Regions from separate parts of the Homo sapiens genome. Here all the other regions are linked to region 4. The links are contacts of gene promoters, found by promoter capture Hi-C in blood cells and fetal thymus (Javierre and others, 2016). All regions are on one chromosome and are shown on one strand. The core of a region is centred on a gene start or on the middle of the fragment in contact, and the rest is flanking DNA. Distances in the headings are between cores, read along the strand shown. Region 1 overlaps ADGRG3 (adhesion G protein-coupled receptor G3). Region 2 has its middle 3.0 kb from the start of ADGRG1. Region 3 overlaps ADGRG5 (adhesion G protein-coupled receptor G5). Region 4 holds the start of CNGB1 (cyclic nucleotide gated channel subunit beta 1). Region 5 overlaps ADGRG1 (adhesion G protein-coupled receptor G1). Region 6 holds the start of ADGRG3 (adhesion G protein-coupled receptor G3). Region 7 overlaps LOC105371291 (a long non-coding RNA gene).

Region 1 (2,700 bases), core at 70-2,569, 290 kb before region 4:
GGCGGCTGTGGGAGCAGGGGTGATGCCAGCTCCCCGGCTACACATATTGGGGCTGGAGAGAGGTGGGGAGAGGAGGGATTTCTAGGAAAATCTAGACCAAATATGTCAAGACCAGAAGAATCCTCAGATCCAGCTAGCTCATGGCACAGAGAAGTAAACTGAAGCCTAGAGAGAGAGAGGGGAAGTGAAATGAGAGAGGGGGCCTGAGAAAGGAGAGGGAGAACTGGACCAGGAGGCAGGATGCCTTACTTGAGCCTGGGCCAACACGAGCCCACATGGCACCTTGAGGCAAAGTAAAGAAGGTCACCCCGTCCGCATGCGGGGTGCGCAGCCTGGAGAGTGGAGGGTGTGTTGGATTTCAGCCCCCACCTGCTGCCCAGCCAGGTGTCCTTGTTCAGGCCACCACCTGCCCAGTGATTCACAGTAGCCCTGGGTCTAGTCTGGGCTCTGCCCTGCCTGCTATGTGTGTGATCTTGGCAGGCCCGATCTCTCCCAGGGCCTCAGTCTCCTCATCTGCACCATGGGGGAACTGATCAACATGCTCTTTGAGGCCCTTTGCCCCTGCAGTGCAGAGGGCAGTGGAGCTGAGTTCAGTTTCTAGACTCACACCTTGGGATCCATGGGGCACCCACCACTGGGCCCATGGCTCTGTGCTAAGAGGAGCTGGTGAGGCCTTGGACCTGTCCCCAGGCCTCAAAAGCAGGGGCCCCAGGAGCTGGAGGGGTCACAAAGGTGCAGGCAGTGGGCCAGGTGGGGACTGCAGCGGACTGGCAGTCACAAGCCCATCTAATTAGCGGTCAGTTACTATCCTTCAGGAGGGCATCCACAGAGCTGCCAGGTGTATGATTTTATAGGAGAAGCAGAAATCTAGGTGTTTATACCAAAGCTTCTGATTTTAAAGGCGGCCACTAATTCCGTTTTTTTCACAATGTAATATGGGGCAAATGAAACATGTCTTTGAGGTCACTTTGGCATTAAAGAGACACCAGACTGGAGCCAGGTGACGGCCCCTCCCACAGCGGGAGAGCCAGGGATTGATGGGTGGAAATGGGAGAGGCACCTTCACAGACAGAAAAGCTCAGCCAGGGGACTTCCTGGGTTTGCTGGCCAGAGGTACCACTCCCAGTCCCACCACAGCTGCCCCCTCCTCCAGATGCTGGTTCCGTGAAGGGACAACCATGTACGCCCTCTATATCACCGTCCACGGCTACTTCCTCATCACCTTCCTCTTTGGCATGGTGGTCCTGGCCCTGGTGGTCTGGAAGATCTTCACCCTGTCCCGTGCTACAGCGGTCAAGGAGCGGGGGAAGAACCGGAAGAAGGTGCTCACCCTGCTGGGCCTCTCGAGCCTGGTGGGTGTGACATGGGGGTTGGCCATCTTCACCCCGTTGGGCCTCTCCACCGTCTACATCTTTGCACTTTTCAACTCCTTGCAAGGTGAGGCCCCTGCACCAGGGAGGTGATGGGCTGTGTTGTCTGTCCCAGGAGGTATTGGGAGGTGGGGAAGAGGGTGGTTTGCAAGACACAGGACTCTGTTCAGGCTAGCTGAAGTCAAGGATGTTGATTTCAAATACTCAGAGCAAGGATCCAGGGCAGCAAAGTTTGGCTGCTGTATTAGTCCGTTTGTGTTACTAGAATACAAAGGAATACTCGAGACTGGGTAATTTATAAAGAAAATGGGGTTAATTGGCTCATGGTTCTGCAGGCTTTAGACAAAGCACAACACCAGTATCTGCTCCTGGTGAGGCCTCAGGAAGCTTCCAATCATGGTGGAAGATAAAGGGGAGCCAGCGTATCACATGGCGAGAGTGGGAGCAAGGGAGTGGGGAGGCACCATGCCGTTTTAAACAGCGAGATCTCGCATGAACTCCAAGTGAGCACTCACTCATCACCAAGGGGATAGTGCTAAGCCATGCATGAGGATCCGCTCCAAGGATCCAATCTCCTCCCCTCAGGCCCCACCTCCAACATTGGGAATCACATTTGGACATGAGATTTGGAAGCAACAAACATCCCAGACATATCAGCTGCCTTCATGGGAGCTGCTACCAGAATCAGAAAAAGCCACCCAAACCAAAGCAGATACGTTCTCTATCTTTTTCCTGGAGCTATGGAGTCTCTCACCTAGTGTCTGTGGAAACTCCTTCATTCTCTCTCCACTTACCCTTTACTACCCATGGCCCCAAATTGTTACCCAACATGGCTGCCGTAACCCTACCTGACCTTGCAAGTTGGGTGTCCATCGTCCATCTCTGGTCCAATCAGCTGCGACCAGAAGGGCAGAATCATGTGATATGATGTCCACATGACATGGATGGGATCTCCAGGGATCTATGGAGGTAGGAAGGAAATGCTTGCTGTATTTGTTACTGGCCCCCGCAGGGCCCTTCCTCTGAGATCCCAGCAAAGGGGTAAGAGCAGTCCATGTGCTATGGTTTATATGTGTTCTCTTTGCTCCTTACATCCACAGCCCAGAGAGGCATCACAGTCTGACTGTGAGAGAAACAGCCAAGACAGGAGTGACGAGACTCAACCTGTTCAGGGAAGTCACTAGAAACCCAGGCGTCCTAGATGCAGCGGGTATAAGCCCCCAAGACCAGGACTGGCTCCCAGCGCCCCATGAGAGATGTGTGGCTTAGTGGCTAGGGCCAGGCAGCCCTGGGTCCAAATCCTAGCCCCATCCCTGACCCAGCAAGTCAC
Region 2 (2,700 bases), core at 73-2,572, 350 kb before region 4:
CAAGGTGGGAGGATCGCTTGAGCTCAGGAGTTCAAGACTAGCGTGGGCAACGTATCAAGACCCTGTCTCTCCAAAAAAATACAAAAGTTAGCCTGGTGTGGTGGGGCATGCCTATAGTCCTAGCTACTTGAGAAGTTGAGGTGGGAGGATCGTTTGAGCCCAGGAGATTGAGGCTGTAGAGAGCTATGATTGCATCACTACATTCCAGCAAGGGCAACAGAGCGAGGCCCTGTCTCGAAAACAAAGAAAAAACCCACTTCTGAGCAGGCAGTGGTTGCTCATGGCCATTTGCACAGGTGGGGACAGCTCTTCACTGTTTGCTAGGCTGGTTCCCACTAAATGCTGCTGCTCTGGCCAGAGGGTTAGAGATAGAAAAAGGGGCTGAAGACCTCCTCCTAGCCCTCCCAGCCCCACCATGTCTTCCTACTCCCCCAGGCCTCAGTCACAGCAGACAATAAGGATGCCCTAACCCCTTATCCCTGTCCTGAGGCTCTCATGTTCTTGAAGATCTCCTCCTACCTCCCCGGCAGCCTCCTCTCTACCTCCTTTGCAGGCCCCTCTGAATAACAGTGCCCTGGCCAATGCATTGGGGTGCCCATTGTCTGCCAGGCCTGGGCTGCAAGATTTACGCATGTGGCCTCATTTAATCGGCCCAATAGAAGGTGCTATTTTGGTCCCCACTTGGCAGGCGAGGAGATAAATGGATGGAGAGATGCTTGCCCAAGTCATCCAGCTGGCCGGCTGGGAGTAGAGGCCAGCTGGCCTGAACCCAGAGTCTGTGATCACAGACTCCGGGCTCAGAGAGGGTGCAGCAGCATTGCCCCCTCTCCTCTGTCCCTCAAAACGAAGGGTTTCCTGCACCTTCAGCTTTCTGCTTTCCCCACACCATCTCTGGACTCCGTCGCCAGCCAATGATGCCATGACCTTCTCTGGGCCTGGCGACCCCAGTCCCTCACTGCTGAGCCCCAACGACGTGTTTCCAGCTGCCTTGGGAAGCAGGGGGGACCTGTGGCTTCCCCACATGACACAGAGCTGCCCCCATTCCATTGCACACAGGGCAGTCTCTTCTCTGCCTTCCGGATCTGCACCCCATCCTGTGCCCCGATTCTTCAGGGACGTTTCAGACATCTTCCCCCTCTCCTCGGTCCCCACCTTCACTTGTCGGGTTGTGGGGGGTGGGGTGTCCCAGCCCTTTTCCTGGTCTCTTGGACCAAAGTCTCCTCCCCCGCTCTTCCCCCATCTGCCTCCTTCGAGGCCCCATCCGGACCCAACTTCCCCTCTACTCCTCTGCCCATCCCTCCGCATCATTGCTGGTACAAGTCCCTGGCGTCTAGACCAGGGCTTCTCACACCTCCAATTCTGGAATCCCCTGGGCATCTTATTAAAATACACATTCAGATTCAGCAGGTCTCAGGCTATCTGTAGGTCTGAAGACCACATTTTGAGGGCTAATCAGGCCTCTCCCTACCCAAACATCTTCTCTGGCTCCCCAGTACCTTTGATTTAAGCCCAAACTCTACACTTTCAAAATCTTCCAGAATCTGCCCCTTGCTGCCCAGTTAGATCCCACTTCCTTCCAAGCATGGCTCCATGCCCTACCTCTCCACCTCAGCCAATGCTGTTCCCTCTGCCTGGGGTGCCCTTCCTGCTGGTCTCTGTTTATCGAAGCCCCCTTCTTCTCCTTCAGGTCCCAGCAGGGGCTCTGGGGTCTACACGCTTAGTTCAGATCCTGGCTGTTATAGAAAGGCGTGGGTAGCCCTCCCTGTACCTCGGTTCCCCTTCTGTAAAGTGGGGATAGACTGTTGTGAGAACAGAAGGAGAAGATGAAGTGCCTAGCAGGGGCCGGATATCTGGTGTCCCGTGTTTGGTTACAGCCCACACACCTGGAGGCCCAGCCAGGTCCAAGCTGTGCGACCTTGGCTAAGTTACTTCATGTCTCTGACCATCTCTAACATACAAGTGGTACCCAACCCACAGGGTTGTGTGGATAAAATGAGAATGATCTGTACAAGCAGAGCATCTTACACCATAAAACCTCCAGACATAGCAGGTGATTATTAGTCCTGTTATCAGCACTCATAACAGATAGTGTTGTGTTTAACAAGTCATTGAATTTCTCCCCCTTTACTCCCAGAGACCCCTGGATGCTGAATACCAACTCCAGGTATCGCTACTATGAGAACCAGGCTTGTCTCTCTAGCCAGACTCAGAGCTGGGGGCCTGCTTCCTCACCTGCCTGCCCCTAGCTCATAGTAGGTCTCTGCAAAGTCCGACGGTGAGAGAGGCAGGCAGAGCTGGGCAGCCAACTCCGCCCAGCCAGGCAGCCCCATAAGCCTCTCCTATGTGGCCAGAGTGGCAGCTGGCTCCGCACTCTCTTCAGCCATCTGCAGAGAGAGTGGTGCCTTCAACTCTCCATCTGTGCCCTTCTGGTCAGCACGCTCTGTGGGGTGTGTGTGTGGTGGTGGTGGTGGGGGGACAGCTGCCCTGTGGGCCTGGTCCCTGGGGAACAGCTGAGGCTGCCCGGGTTACCAGTTGATCAGGCCCTGAAGGACTGACCTTGGGGAAACTGAGGCAGAGGTGGTGGTATGTCAGGGACAACCCATCCTCCCCTAGATAACTCACTTGTCCTCCCTTGTTAGTGGGCCCCCAGTGTAGGCTGGCCTCTGCTGCTTTGGCAATAAGGGAGTTCCCACTGCAGCC
Region 3 (2,700 bases), core at 86-2,585, 400 kb before region 4:
CACCTCTACTTTCTATGTTACTAATTTTATCACCTCTTCCACCTCCATCATCATCATCGTCACCTCCTCCACCACCATTATCACCTCCTCCACCTTCATTATCACCATCACCTCCTCCACCTCCTCCACCACCATTATCACCTCCTCCACCTTCATTATCACCATCACCTCCTCCACCTCCATCACCACCATCATCATCTCATCCACCTCTGTTATCGCCATCACCTCCTCCACCTTCATCACCACCATCGTCACCTCCTCCACGTACATCACCACCTTCTTCACCACCATGATCACCTCCTCCACCTCCATCACCACCTCCTCCACCATCATCACCATCATCATCACCTCCTCCACCTCCACCACCTCTTCCACCTCCTTCACCACCACCATCATCTCCTTCACCTCCACCACCACCTCCTCCACCTCCATCACCTCCATCATCACCTCCTCAACCTCCATCATCACCTCTTCCACCTCCATCACCTCCATCACCACCACCTCCACCTCTGTCACCTCCATCACTACCTCCTCCACCTCCATCACCTCCATCACCACCTCCTCCACCTCCATCACCTCCATCACCACCTCCTCCACCATCATCACCTCCATCACCACCTCCTCCACCTCTATCACCTCCGTGATCACCTCCTCCACCTCCGTCATCACCATCATCACCTGCTCCATCTCCTCCACCTCTATCACCACCATCATCACCTCCTCCACCTTCATCATCACCATCACCTCCTCCACCTCCATCACCACCATCACCATCTCCTCCACCTCCGTTATCGCCATCACCTCCTCCACCTTCATCACCACCATCATCACCTCCTCCACGTACATCACCACCTTCTTCACCACCATGATCACCTCCTCCACCTCCATCACCACCTCCTCCACCTTCATCACCATCGTCATCACCTCCTCCACCTCCACCACCTCCTCCACTTCCTTCACCACCACCATCATCTCCTTCACCTCCACCACCACCTCCTCCACCTCCATCACCTCCATCATCACCTCCTCCACCTCCATCATCATCACCTCCACCTCCATCATCTCCATCACCACCACCTCCACCTCCATCACCTCCATCACCACCTCCTCCACCTCCATCAACTCCATCACCACCTCCTCCACCTCTATCACCTCCATGATCACCTCCTCCACTTCCGTCATCACTATCATCACCTGCTCCATCTCCTCCACCTCTATCACCACCATCATCACCTCCTCCACCTCCATCATCACCATCACTTCCTCCATCTCCTCCACCTCTATCATCACCATTATCACCTCCTCTACCTCCATCATCACCATCGCCTCCTCCATCTCCTCCACCTCTATCATCGCCATCATCACCTCCTCCACCTTCATCATCACCATCATCACCTCCTCCATCTCCTCCACCTCTGTCACCACCATCATCACCTCCTCCACCTCTATCACCATCGTCATCACATCCTCCATCTCCTCCACCTCTGTCATCACCATCGTCACCTCCTCCACCTCCATCATCACCATCACCTCCTCCATCTCCTCCACCTCTATCATCATCATTACCTCCTCCACGTCTATCATCACCGTCACCTCCTCCATCTTCTCCACCTCTGTCATCACCATCATCTCCTCCACCTGCACTATCACCATCATCACCTCCATCTCCTCCACCTCCATCAGCACCATCATCACCTCCTCTACCTCCATTACCGCCTTCATTTTCTCTACCTCCTTCACCACCATCACCACCTACTCCACCTCCATCTCCACCATCATCACTTCCTCCACCTTCTCTATCTCCAGCAGCACCATCACTGGTACCTTCATCACCGTCCTTGCCCCTTTCTTGCTTATTTCTATTTCCTCAGCAGTTCCCCAGTCCTCCCTCCCATTTGCTCCCCACCACCACCTTCCCAGTGTGACCACTCCTCCCTCCACCACTGTTCCATCGTAGAGCCGTCACTAACATCATCTTGGAGGAGAGCTTCCTCCAAACCACCAGGCTCATTGCTCTGAAGTTGGGGGCTCACAACAGTCTCCTCTCAGTTGTCCCTTGACCAGTGAAATTCTGTGTCAGCAGCCCCAGGGACCGCCCCAGGGACCGAGGGTCAGCCCTCTCCCACATCTCCTGAGCCTTTGTCCCACCCCTCAGGGGCCCCAGCCCTCCTGGTGCTGCTTTCCCTCTCTGTCAAGAGCTCGGTATACGGACCCTGCACAATCCCCGTCTTCGACAGCTGGGAGAATGGCACAGGCTTCCAGAACATGTCCATGTGAGTGCCCTCAGGGCTGCAGTGGGCTCCCTGGCTCTGGCAGAAGGGCCACATGGGCCTGGGGCTCCAAATGGAATATCCTGTAGGCAAAGCACTGGCTGTGGGGCAGAGAGGGAGCTGGGGCTTAGACAGGGGAGTTTGCAGGGGGCTCCACCACATCCCTTCCATGGATCCAGGTCTCCTGCAGAGGCAGCCTTGTGTTCTATGCTGGTGAAGTCTACGAAGCCAGCGTCTGCTCGCCAACCTGCCAGGGCAGCCGGGCCTCCCGCCTCCTCTGTCCTGCCCTGCCCTCCAGTGCCCAGGCCCTGAGGGTCTGGCTCAGCCTGCACTTGACTCTGTTCCCCTGCAGACCACCTTGCTGCACCTACCCAGGCTCCAACTCCTCCCGACCTGCCCTGGGCACTGCCAGGCCTCTCAAGTCCTCCTA
Region 4 (2,700 bases), core at 154-2,653:
ACAGGTTGTTTCTGGTTGATTTCTCCTTGGGGAATGGGGAGCCCCAGCCCTTATGACTGAACCCCTGCAGGATGGCCTGGCCAGTGCGCAGCGTGCAGGTCAGTGTGTGCTAACTCCTAGCCCTAGATGTGTTCTTGCCCCACATGAGTGTGCCCCACCCCTCTCCCAGCCATGGGCAACCCGGGCTTTGGCAGAGAGTCTGTATGCCCCTTTCTGCCAGGGACCCTGGCCCCAGCTGAAGAGGGCAGCCCAGGCCCAGGATCCTTGCCCCCAAGCCCAGCTCCCCAGAGCCCACGGCTGTGCTGCCTGTCCTCTACTTACAGCCCTGACCTCTGTTCCCACTCTGGCATCAGCAGCCCAGCCTCTCCCACGAGAGGCTGTGGTGGGAACACAGCTCTAAGTGTCAGATCCCTGGCTCAGCCTCCCAAAAAATGAACTTGGGCCAGACATGACCCCTCTGGTCTTCCATTTCCCTGAAGGTGGGGGCACAGACACAATGTTTTCCCAGGTCGGGACTGCCAGAGCTCACATGTTGGGATAGCAGATTTCACTGACCCCAGCCAGCCCCAGGCAGCCCCGAGAGCCAGGGCTGAGCTAAGTGCATTCTACCCATGATCATACTCATCCTCGCTCTCACCACCACGCCCCGCCCAGCCCCTGCACTCAGTAAAATAAGAATTTTCATTATGTAGCACAGAAAGGTCAACAGAATCGCCTGAAGCAGCACAGCCGGCAGTGGCCAACTTGAGTTTACACTCAGGTCTGCCCGATTCCAGCTGCCCCACATGTATTCCCAGGTAGTCGTGGCATTTGCCGAGTGTTGGCCTCTTCCGCGGGCCAGGCCTGTAGACCCTTCCCAGCAGGCAGCAATTCTCGCTTGCATTTCTAAACCTTCTGGAAATGACTAAGGAAGCCTCCCCGATCCCCCATTTTTCTTTTTCCTCCTAAATGAGAATTTTTGCAGGTCCCTCCCATCTTTCACCCGTGTCCCTGCTGACTGCACTTTGATGAGGGAGGCTCAGGTGGGAAGGGGGACCCACGAGTGGCAGCTCGGGGAGCCATGGTGTTGCACCACCAGCATTTCCAGAGTCTTCTGGAGAGCTAGTGAAAATATAGATTCCTAGGTCCCCCAAGTCCTCCTGGGGGACCTAGGAATTTGCATTGTACAAGCTGTCCTGAAAATTCTGATGCCCGCTAAAGTCCAAGCTCCACCAGATAGAGGGAAGCCACAGGTTTCCCACCGTGCCAGTTTGGTCCTACCTAAATGCCTTTCTAGAGGGAGAACATGGGGATCCCCTCGGGGTCCCACCGAGCCTCCACCTCACCCTGAGTTACCTGCTTAGATGCCAACCGCCAGCCAGGAATTGCCTTCTTGCTGCCACTCGTAGCTGGCCCCTCAGACACAAGGAAGATTAATTGGCAGTAGCTGGGCCGTGTGCAAAGGATTAGCAGGTGCTGAATGGGGGAGGGGGAGAAAAGAGGCTGTTGATGCCCAGGAAACCAGCAGCACCTCCCAACTCCCAGGGTCCAGCAAGGATGTGGGCCCCAGGGAAGGGCTCCTGCATGGCCCAGGTTTGGAGCACCATGGGTTGCCAGGGGACCTGCCCGGCTTACCAGGGGCCTGGCTTCCCATACACCTTGGCCAAGACACGGAGTGGCTGATGGGAGAATAACAGCTTGGAGTTCCCATGTGATGCCTGGAGACTCCTCATGGTAGCAGGGGCTTGTCAGCTCCCACTCAGCGGTGGCAAGAGGTGTACCCCAACTCTCCAGCCCCCAGGCCAGGACGCAGGCAGGTTCTTTCTGGCTTAGAGTCTTCTCTGGGCAGGGTCTCAGCAGCCCTGCCTTGGGCTCTGCCAGAAAGGCTGTGTCCCAGGCCTGGGCCTTGAGGATGGATCCAAGACCCGGCAGATGACTGAGGCATCTGACCTGCCCTGTGAACTGAGGCTGGACACTTGAAGGGATACAGAGATCTAGGAGGAGAGGGTGCAAGGGACAGGGCCCAAGGAAGAGGGGCTCAGTGTGGTGGCCCTGAGGGATATTTGGCAAAGGGCAGGACTTGACTTAATTATCCGCACCATTTCTAGAGTTCTTCCTTTCCTTTCCTTTCCTTTTTTTTTTTTTTTTTTTAAGCCACAGTCTCTCTCTGTCACTCAGGCTAAGTGAAGTGGTGCAATCACAGCTCATTGCAGCCTCAACCTCTCAAACTCCTGGATGCAAGCAATCCTCCTGCCTCAGCCTCTCATAGTATTGGGATTACAGATGTAAGCCCCTGCACCTGGCCTAGAGCTCTTCCTTTGTGCCTGGCAGTGTGCCAGCCTTGGCACACTGAGCAAGACAGACATAGGCCCTGTCCTCATGGAGCTTACATTCCAATGGAGGAGATTACTGACAAATAAAGAATATTGCAAATTATGCTAAGTGCCATAAAAGAAACAAACAGGGCAGAAGCATGTTGTGGAGGGCAGTAGGGGCAGGTAGGCAGGCCCCTATGACGAGGTGGATGTATATTTGAACTGAGACATGAAAAGTAAGAAAGACTCAGCTGTGAAAAAAGCTGGGTGAGTGGTGCTCCAGGCCAAGGACACTGCAACGAGAAAGGTTCTGAGGCTGGAATGAGCCTTGAGGAGCAGAATGGGAACCGGGGAGCCTGGAGCTTAACGGGTGCAGGGGAGAGTGGTGGGAGATGAGGTTGACAGA
Region 5 (2,700 bases), core at 96-2,595, 330 kb before region 4:
GGTCTGGTGTAAGAGTGTGAGGCTCACCCTGGGCAGTGAGTGGGCCAGGCCTGGGCACCTGCCAGCCTCCGAGGCAGGCAGCTTGCTTCATTTTATTCTCCTTTATTGTAGGAAAATTCCTGAAAACTGAAGTCACTCTGCTTCTGCCAGTGATCCTGGAATACCCCTCTTGGGGAGCTCTCTGTGGTCACCTAGCTTGGACTTCCGTCACTCACTTGGGGAGTGGGAATGGGGGAGGGGAGTGGGAATAGGGGAGGAGAGTGCTTCTGCCTTTGCAAGCTGTTATCCCAGGACCCATGGGTGCGGCTGAGGGGTGGGGGGACTGGGCTGGGGGTGGGGCGTAGCCCTGAGTGCCACCTGGGTCTGACAGGGGTGTCTACTTTGAGCTGTTGGGTACATGCTATTTCCAAGTAAGATTTACTTTTATTAAAAAAGTTTGGAAACCGTTGGAGGGAGGGTCCTCTCAGACGCCACGCCACCCACCATGGAGGAAACACCTGCAAGAGCCCTGCTCTTTGCACTGTGCCCCGCCCTCCCTGTCCCCTTCCCAGCTTTGAAGTCTGTTCCTCTGAGGAGCTCCCCGCCTTCTCTTGCTTTCTCCTCCTGGCCCCATGCATCCCTGTGTATGCACGGGCACACGCACTCATGCACACACACTCATGCACACACATGCACAGTCATGCACGGGCACACACACTCATCACACACTCATGCTCAGGCACACACTCATGCACACAAGGACATTCATGCATGGGCACACACACTGATCACACACTCATGCACGGGCACACAGCCATGTGCACACAGACATATGCACACTAATGCATGGGCACACACACTCGTCACACACTCCTCACACATTCATGCACATGCACACACTCATGCACGGGCACACACACCCATGCACACACATATGCACACTCATGCATGGGCACACACACTCATCACACACATGCGCAGGCACACACATGCACACACGGACACTTATGCACAAGCACACACACTGATCACACACTCATGCAAGGGCACACACCCATGCGCACACACATGCACACTCATGCATGGGCACGCACACTCATCACACACTCCTCACACACTCATGCACAAGCACACACATGCACGGGCACACACTGATCACACGCACTGGCACACACTGATCACACGTATGCACGGGCACACACCCATGCACACACACATATGCACACTCATGCATGGGCACACACTCATCACTCCTCACACACATGCACACACTGATCACACTCATGCAGGGCACACACACCCATGCACACACACATGTACACTCATGCATGGGCACACACACTCATCACTTCATAACTCATGCACACACACACTCATGCACGGGCACCCACTGATCACACACTCATGCATGGGCACACACCCCCATGCACACACACATGCACACTCATGCATGGGCGCACACACTCATCACACACTCATGCACATACACACACTCATGCACACGCACACACACCCACATGCCTGTGTAACTCGCAGGAGTTCATCCTCACCCTGCCGCCCGACCCCCTGGGCCAAATCCTTGCTTCCAAAGGCTCAGCAGCTCAGTGTCGTGCCCCAGCAGCCCACAGGAGAGCAGCTGCGGACGGGAGGGGAGCTAGGGCAGTGGAAGTTGAGCTGGGGGGGTCTTCCCCTCTGCCTCTCCCAGCGAGGGCCCATTTAAGGGGAAGGCCTCCAGGTGGGCAAGACTAGGCTGGAACCTGGAGATTGCCTCCGGGGCTCCCTCGTTCCTCCCTCCTTGGCTCCCTTCCCACCCCACCACCCCCCAACCTGATGCCTGCCCTTCTCCTGATGTCTTTCAGGAAGCCCCTTCCAGGGCCCCGCTAAATGCTGGGGGAGCCACAGAGGAGCCTGATGGGTCTGCGTCACAGGGCAGGGAAGAGAGTGCTGGAACGCAGGCTGCCCTGGCCCCGAGTCCAGGCCCTACCATCTAGCAGCTGAGGGATGCGGGGCCAGTCCCTCCCCTCTCTGACCATCTCTAAACCAGGGCTGCTGGTGCCTTTCCCTGGTTCATAAGCCCGTGGTTCCCAAGCCTGCAGTATGTCCATCAACGGGATGCTTGTTAAAGCCAAGCTCCCAAGCCCACCCCATCAGACCCTCTTTGGGCCGGGACTGTGAATCTGCATTTCAGCTCACTCCCAGAGGAAGGTCTGACCCACCGGCAGGCTTGGGAGCCTCTGATGTGAGCGCCTGTGGCAATGGGGGGCGTGTTGTGTTGAGGGTGGGTTGTGGGCCAGCAGGAACATGCGTTAATTTTGGCAAGGAATGGACGGGTAGGTGAGGCTTCATGGGGAGGACTTGTCTTAGCTCGTCTCAAAGATGAGCGGAATGTCACGGGGCTAAGTGCTATCCAAGGCAAAGGGACACCAAGGGGCAAAGGTCTGTGGGTGGGATGCCTGTGCTCGGGGGCGGGCAGTGGTCACTGTGTGTAAAGGGAAGAAGGAAGCAGTGGATGGCCAGGTTCGTGGGTCTTCCCGGCAGGAGACAGCAGAGAGGCGCCTGCCCGGGAAGGGTTAATCCCAGAGCCGTCCAGGTCCTGTCCACTCAACTTCCACCTCCATCCTCTGAGGAAATGGGTTTTCCAGGAGCTTGGCCTGGGCAGCGGTGACTCGTGGCTCCACACGGAAGTGACTCAGGTCCCCCGGGAGAAAGCGAGCCGTGGGT
Region 6 (2,700 bases), core at 157-2,656, 300 kb before region 4:
GATGGGCCCAGCACATCCAAGTCCACTGCCCCACCTCACCCTCACCTGCAGCTGGGAGGGAGGTCTGCAGATCTTCCAGGAGAAGGCTGGCCAGGTGTGGAGCAGTGGCAGGCCCAGCCATTCATCTGCCTTCGCAGCCCTCCCTGCAGAGGAAGTTTCTGGGGCTCAGGAAGCCCTGGGCTCTGACCTGCTGCTCCATGCTGAATTCCCACCTGCTCCCACACCATGAGTGACCCTGACATCCCCTCCCTACCCCTTCCCAGACCCAGAGGGCTCAGCAGGAGACACTGAGTGGGAGGAGGAGGAAATGGAGGCCAGCAGGGGCTGAGCGGCTCCCCAGTTCAATCCCAAGGCTGAGTAGGGCTAGTGCCAGCCCCGTGGGCCAGAGGGGGATGCCAGCAACCACACACCTTGGTGGGATGCCCTTCACCTTCCAATTGCCAAGTGGCCATGGCCTCATGCACAGTGCATCCGTGGGGCCTCCAGAGTTGGCCCGAGTGGCTGGCGCCCTAATTCCTTTAGGCTGAAGCCCAGGAGTGTTTGCCACCCCCACCTCCCACCTGATCAGTGACCATTTGGGGTGTAAAGACAACAATTTCACAGCTCTGATGATCAGAAATGATGTAATGGCCACAGGCGGCTCCGCCTGCGTCATCCATGATTTCATCACACACCTCGGGAGGCTCAGGGTGACAGACAGTGCATGCAAGGTCACCCGGCCAGGAAGTGGCCAGGATGGATGTTAGCTCAGGCCTGACCAGCCCCCGGGGCCGCACTGCTGTCTTCCCGCTACCCTGCCTCTGGGTCCGTCCTGTTATCCAGGCTGGTGGGGGAAGCTCAGGCTGCAGGGCCAGCTCCTGCTCTCCTCCCACACCCTCCAGCCTGGTTCAAGCCATAGGCACCATCTGGGTCTTCGTCCTCATGCCCAGAGCCAGGCTCTGTGCCCAGCTTGTTGCAGGTCTCATCAAACCCTGACACAGCCTTAGGAGGCAGCCCCATTGCCATCTTCACTTTACAGAGGAGGAAACTGAGGCTCAGAGAGGCTCCCAGCTTGTGAGAGGAGGGGTCTGAGTAGGTGCGCCTGACTCCAAAGCCTGTGCTCACCACAGTTCCCAGGGATCCGCTCTGAGCCAGGCCCCTGTGGCCACCCAGCCCCTAGCCCCGTAGATCCCACCCCAGTGGGGCCCCGGGGGCACATACCTGGGTGGGCTCAGCAGCTCCCTCTGCAGGTGGACCCAGGGTGCGGTGAGACTGGGAGCACTGCCCAGTTCCCCACACTCACCTTTCACAACCCAACCAATGGCGCCATCGAGCAGGAAGGGTGAGAAAGAGGACACAGGAAGCCAGAGTGGTGGGGCTGCAGGGTGGGGGCAGGCCAGCTCAGCAGAGCCTGGGGCCAGAGGGCCAGACAGCCACAGAGCTCCTGGCGTGGGCAAGGCTGGCCAAGGATGGCGACGCCCAGGGGCCTGGGGGCCCTGCTCCTGCTCCTCCTGCTCCCGACCTCAGGTGAGTGGCTGGCACCTCATCCCCTCCTGCCACGCTGGGCCGACCCTGCCCTGCCGAGGGAGGGATCCAGGGACAGACGCAGGGACTGGAGAAGGTGAGGAGTTGGGGTGTCTGGGATGTGTCCTCCGATACCCCCCGTGGCCGCCTCAGCACCTTCTCTAGCCCTGTCCCTTTGGGTCAGTCCTGTCCTTCCACTAAACCTTGCTCAGGACTGGTCTCAGGTTCCCTTTGTTGCTCCACAGTGCCCTGGAGATAGGGGAGGTCGGAGGGTGCTCCCTGACTCCCCAACCTGGGCTGTGTCTCCCTGACAGGCCTGGCTCTGAGACAGGGGTTGGCCCCGGGCAGGCAATTCTCCAGCTGGCTTGTGAGATCCTGGGGACGGGATTCAGACACTCTGGAAGCTGAGGCCAGGAAGGTCTGTCACCTCGTTCTTCTGGACCTCTCCTCCCGCACATGTCACCCCACACCGGCTCCCTCTCCCAGTCTCAGCCACAACCTCTTGGTCCTCAGTGGCCTGAGCCAGGATCCACACTCCTCCCCGTCACTCTCCCGTCTCACACACAAACACATGGTGCGTCTCCAGAGGCCATGGAAGTGCCCGGGCCTTGCCTTTGCTGGCCTCTCTCCCAGGAAAGCTGTCCCCCTACCCCTTGCCCACTTAGCCAGCTCCATTTACCCTTCTTGGCCTCTGTGGCGTCTTAGCAACCCTCTCGGACAGAGGGAGGTGCTCCCCCGTTAGTGCTCCCTCCTCAGTGCTCCTGTCTCAGGGCCTTGCAGGCCACTCTCTTTTTGCTCCTGACTCGGTGAGGGGCCTGCATGTCCATCTCCCTGTGTGTCCAGCGTGTGGTCGCGTGACTTTGGCCACATAGATCAACTTATTTGGTCTTCAAATAACCCTCTTCTTTTCAAACATTGGAAGATTCAGTGGAGTGAATCAGTCCCTGGCTCAAAAAAGGGTGGGAGATGACAGCACTGTCCTCCTAGTGGCCCCGGGAGGCCCTGGTACAGAGCAGGCCACCAGGCAGCCCTTGATAGATGAATGAACGGAGCCACCGATGGCAGCTGTGACCAGGGCTCATGGGCGTCCTCAGGTCCCAGCTGTCATCGCTGGTTGGGCCTTCAAGCCTCCTCCAGGTGATGCTGTTTCCCCCATGGTGATGTGGGTGCTCTGGTTGGGGCAGAGCAGCAGCCATT
Region 7 (2,700 bases), core at 22-2,521, 370 kb before region 4:
ATTATAAATGATGGTCATATTAGTTATCATGGCCATGTAACAAATCACTCCAACACTCAGTGGCTAAAACAACAAAATTTATCTCCCCATTTTTGTGGGCCAGGAATCCAGGGGTAGCCTAGCTAAGTGGCAATGGCTCAAGGTCTCTTATGAGGTTTCAGTCAAGTTGGAGGACAGGGCTGAGGTCTCATCTGAGGGCCTGACTGTGGAGGTGATCCACAGGGCTGCCTCATGACATGGCAGCTAGCTTCACCCAGAGCAAGTGATCTGAGAGAGAGAGATAGTATCAGAGAGAGAGAGAGAGAGAGAGATAGTATTCAAGATGGAAGCCACACTCTTTATAACCTAATATCAGAAGAGACATCCCATTATTTCTGCCATATTCTATTCATTAGAAGTGAGGCACTAAATCCAGCCCATACAAGAAGATGAGATTACCCAAAGGTGTGAATACCAGGAGGTAGGGTTCACTGGGAGACTTCCTTAGAGGCTGCCTATTGCAGTGATTTTTTAAAAATCTTCATTTCCTGATTCTTATGGCTACTATATAATTTTACATAATTGTTATTTTTTTTTGAGATGCAGTCTCACTCTGTTGCCCAGGCTGGAGTGCAGTGGTGCCATCTTGACTTACTGCAACCTCTGCCTCCCAGGTTCAAGTGATTCTTGTGCCTCAGCCTCCTGAGTAGTTGGGATTACAGGCACATGCCACCATGCTCAGCTAATTTTTGTATTTTTAGTAGAGATGCTGTTTCACCATGCTGGCCAGGCTGGTCTTGAACTCCTGGCTTCAAGTGATCCACCTGCCTCAGCCTCCCAAAGTGCTGAGACTGCAGATATGAGCCACTATGTCTGGCCTCACAATGAAGTTTTAATATTGATTTTTGTATTCAGCAACCTCGCTAAACTCTCTCATTGAATATAATAGTTTATCTGTGGATCGCTTTGCATTTTTCATATACTCGTCATATCATCCGTGAATGATAAAGTTCATTTTTATCTTTCCAATCCTTGTATGTTTTATTTTATTTATTTTCCTTGGTACACAGGCCAGGTCTTACAGAACAAGAGTTTAACAGCTGTGGTAATAGTGAGCTTCCTTATCTTGTTGCCAATCTCCAAGGAAAAGTTTTTAACAGTTTCACCTGAAAGTATACTATCTGTTGTAGTGTTTCATATACCTGTATATTAGATCAGATATTATCAGATTTAGGGAGTTCCCTTCTGTTTCCAGTTTGCTAAGGGTTTTTGTTTGTTTTAAAATCATGAATGAATGTTGAATTTTGTCAAACATCTCTTTGCATATATTGCGATCATTATTAGAATTTTCTACTTTGATCTTTTAATGTCATGAATTACATTACTTTTTTTGGTAATGTAAAATATGTATTGCATTTGTTAAACCTAACATTATCCTTTTATATGTTACTGGATTTAGTTTACTAATTTTTTAAAAGAATTTTTGCATCTATGTTCTTGAGAAAGAGTAGCCTGTAATTTTTCTTTCTCATACTGTCTAGTTGGGTTTTGGTGTCAAGAGTATGCCAGCCTCATAAAACAAGTTTGAGTCTTCATAAGAGTTTGGGGCCAACTTGGAATTATTATTTATTCCTAGAATGTTTGGTATAACTTGCCAGTGGAACTGCCTGGCCTTAAGTTTTCACTGTGGGAAGATTTTTGAGTATAAATACAAATTCTATGTCTAGGACTGCTCAGAATTTCTATTTCTACTTATGTCAATTTAGGTAAGCAATGCTTTTCTAAGGCTTTTTATAAAATTTAAATTTATTGGCATAAAGTTGTTCACAATATTATCTTTTTATATAATTATGGTCATAATAATGTTCTCCTTTTTCTATCTGACATAGGTTATTTGTGCTTTTCTTTTCTAGTGTCTTCGTTATTTCTCCAGAGGTTTGCCAATTTTACTAATCTCTTCAAAGATCCAATTTTGATTTTTGTTCATTTTCTTAATTGTATGCTTACTATTTTATTAGCTTGTGCTTTGGTCTTCCGTATACTTTTTTTGGGGGGGGGTTGAATTTACTATTCTTTTTCTAAGCTCTTTGAAATGGATGATTAGCTCATTAATTTTAAGTCTTTACTCTTTTCTATTATATGCTATATATTTTCCTGTAAGTATTAACTTTAGAAAAATTTCCTACCAGCTTTGATATATATGATATTTTCATTATTATTCACTTCAAAATGTTTTTAGTTTTTAATTGTAACTTCTCTGTGATATAAAGAAGTATGACTTTAAATTTTCCACATTATGGGGATTTCCTAGTTTTTTTTTTATTGATTTTAGCTTAATTATATTGTGGTCAGATCAACATTACATGAATTAGAAATTTATCAAGATTTGTTTTAGGCTCAGAATATGAGCCAAATTTGTAAATGTTCTGCTTGAAACATGTATCTTACAACAATTGTGTGCAGTATTCTACATATGCTCATTAAGTCTAGTTTATTAACAGAGTTCTTCAAATCTTTTATACCCTTTTGTCTCGTTTTTAAAATTAAACTGAAAACGGTGTCTTAAAATCTTCTATTATGGCTGTTGATTCTTCCATAGTCCTATTAAGTTTTGCTTATATATTTTGAGATTATGTTGTAGGCACAAATTTAATATTGTTATGTCTTCCTAGGAACTTTTGCTATCTTTTCCTCTGGTTTTTGCCTTAAAGTTTATTTTGT

The links. Contacts are between HindIII fragments. The CHiCAGO score rates a contact against its expected background, and 5 or more counts as called.
Region 1: a contact is called between a fragment that was not itself captured here and the fragment with the promoter of CNGB1 in region 4, in 1 of 17 cell types (endothelial precursors). The highest score is 6.2, in endothelial precursors.
Region 2: a fragment that was not itself captured here is called in contact with the fragment with the promoter of CNGB1 in region 4 in 3 of 17 cell types (neutrophils, M2 macrophages and M0 macrophages); the score reaches 7.3 in neutrophils.
Region 3: a fragment that was not itself captured here is called in contact with the fragment with the promoter of CNGB1 in region 4 in 4 of 17 cell types (endothelial precursors, M1 macrophages, M0 macrophages and 1 more); the score reaches 7.2 in endothelial precursors.
Region 5: a fragment that was not itself captured here is called in contact with the fragment with the promoter of CNGB1 in region 4 in 5 of 17 cell types (neutrophils, M1 macrophages, M2 macrophages and 2 more); the score reaches 6.0 in neutrophils.
Region 6: the fragment with the promoter of ADGRG3 here is called in contact with the fragment with the promoter of CNGB1 in region 4 in 2 of 17 cell types (M1 macrophages and erythroblasts); the score reaches 6.3 in M1 macrophages.
Region 7: a fragment that was not itself captured here is called in contact with the fragment with the promoter of CNGB1 in region 4 in 1 of 17 cell types (neutrophils); the score reaches 5.0 in neutrophils.

The regions. Positions count from the first base shown.
Region 1 is chr16:57,684,490-57,687,189 of GRCh38, forward strand. ADGRG3 (adhesion G protein-coupled receptor G3) reads left to right here. Exons shown (of 12, transcript NM_170776.5): 11 at 1,154-1,437. Among named protein-coding and RNA genes, the nearest start is that of DRC7, 9.0 kb to the right of the region's middle. The HindIII fragment of the contact is 871 bases long and covers 885-1,755 here.
Region 2 is chr16:57,624,265-57,626,964 of GRCh38, forward strand. It overlaps a transcript of ADGRG1 not described here. Among named protein-coding and RNA genes, the nearest start is that of ADGRG1, 3.0 kb to the right of the region's middle. RefSeq lists an enhancer at 113-407. The HindIII fragment of the contact is 3,334 bases long and covers 1-2,700 here.
Region 3 is chr16:57,568,263-57,570,962 of GRCh38, forward strand. It overlaps ADGRG5 (adhesion G protein-coupled receptor G5), which reads left to right. Exons shown (of 12, transcript NM_001304376.3): 10 at 2,156-2,273. It overlaps LOC105371291 (a long non-coding RNA gene), which reads right to left. Exons shown (of 4, transcript XR_933627.4): 3 at 2,213-2,371. Among named protein-coding and RNA genes, the nearest start is that of ADGRG5, 27 kb to the left of the region's middle. The HindIII fragment of the contact is 2,988 bases long and covers 1-2,700 here.
Region 4 is chr16:57,969,725-57,972,424 of GRCh38, forward strand. It overlaps CNGB1 (cyclic nucleotide gated channel subunit beta 1), which reads right to left and starts at 1,404. Exons shown (of 33, transcript NM_001297.5): 1 at 1,336-1,404. The HindIII fragment of the contact is 12,254 bases long and covers 1-2,700 here.
Region 5 is chr16:57,643,581-57,646,280 of GRCh38, forward strand. All of the region lies in intron 1 of ADGRG1 (adhesion G protein-coupled receptor G1), which reads left to right. Among named protein-coding and RNA genes, the nearest start is that of ADGRG1, 16 kb to the left of the region's middle. The HindIII fragment of the contact is 4,737 bases long and covers 1-2,700 here.
Region 6 is chr16:57,666,900-57,669,599 of GRCh38, forward strand. It overlaps ADGRG3 (adhesion G protein-coupled receptor G3), which reads left to right and starts at 1,407. Exons shown (of 12, transcript NM_170776.5): 1 at 1,407-1,506. The coding sequence starts at 1,449. The HindIII fragment of the contact is 25,338 bases long and covers 1-2,700 here.
Region 7 is chr16:57,595,601-57,598,300 of GRCh38, forward strand. The region is part of intron 1 of LOC105371291 (a long non-coding RNA gene); the gene reads right to left. It overlaps LOC107984889 (a long non-coding RNA gene), which reads left to right. Exons shown (of 2, transcript XR_001752212.2): 2 at 1,893-2,547. Among named protein-coding and RNA genes, the nearest start is that of ADGRG1, 32 kb to the right of the region's middle. The HindIII fragment of the contact is 8,551 bases long and covers 1-2,700 here.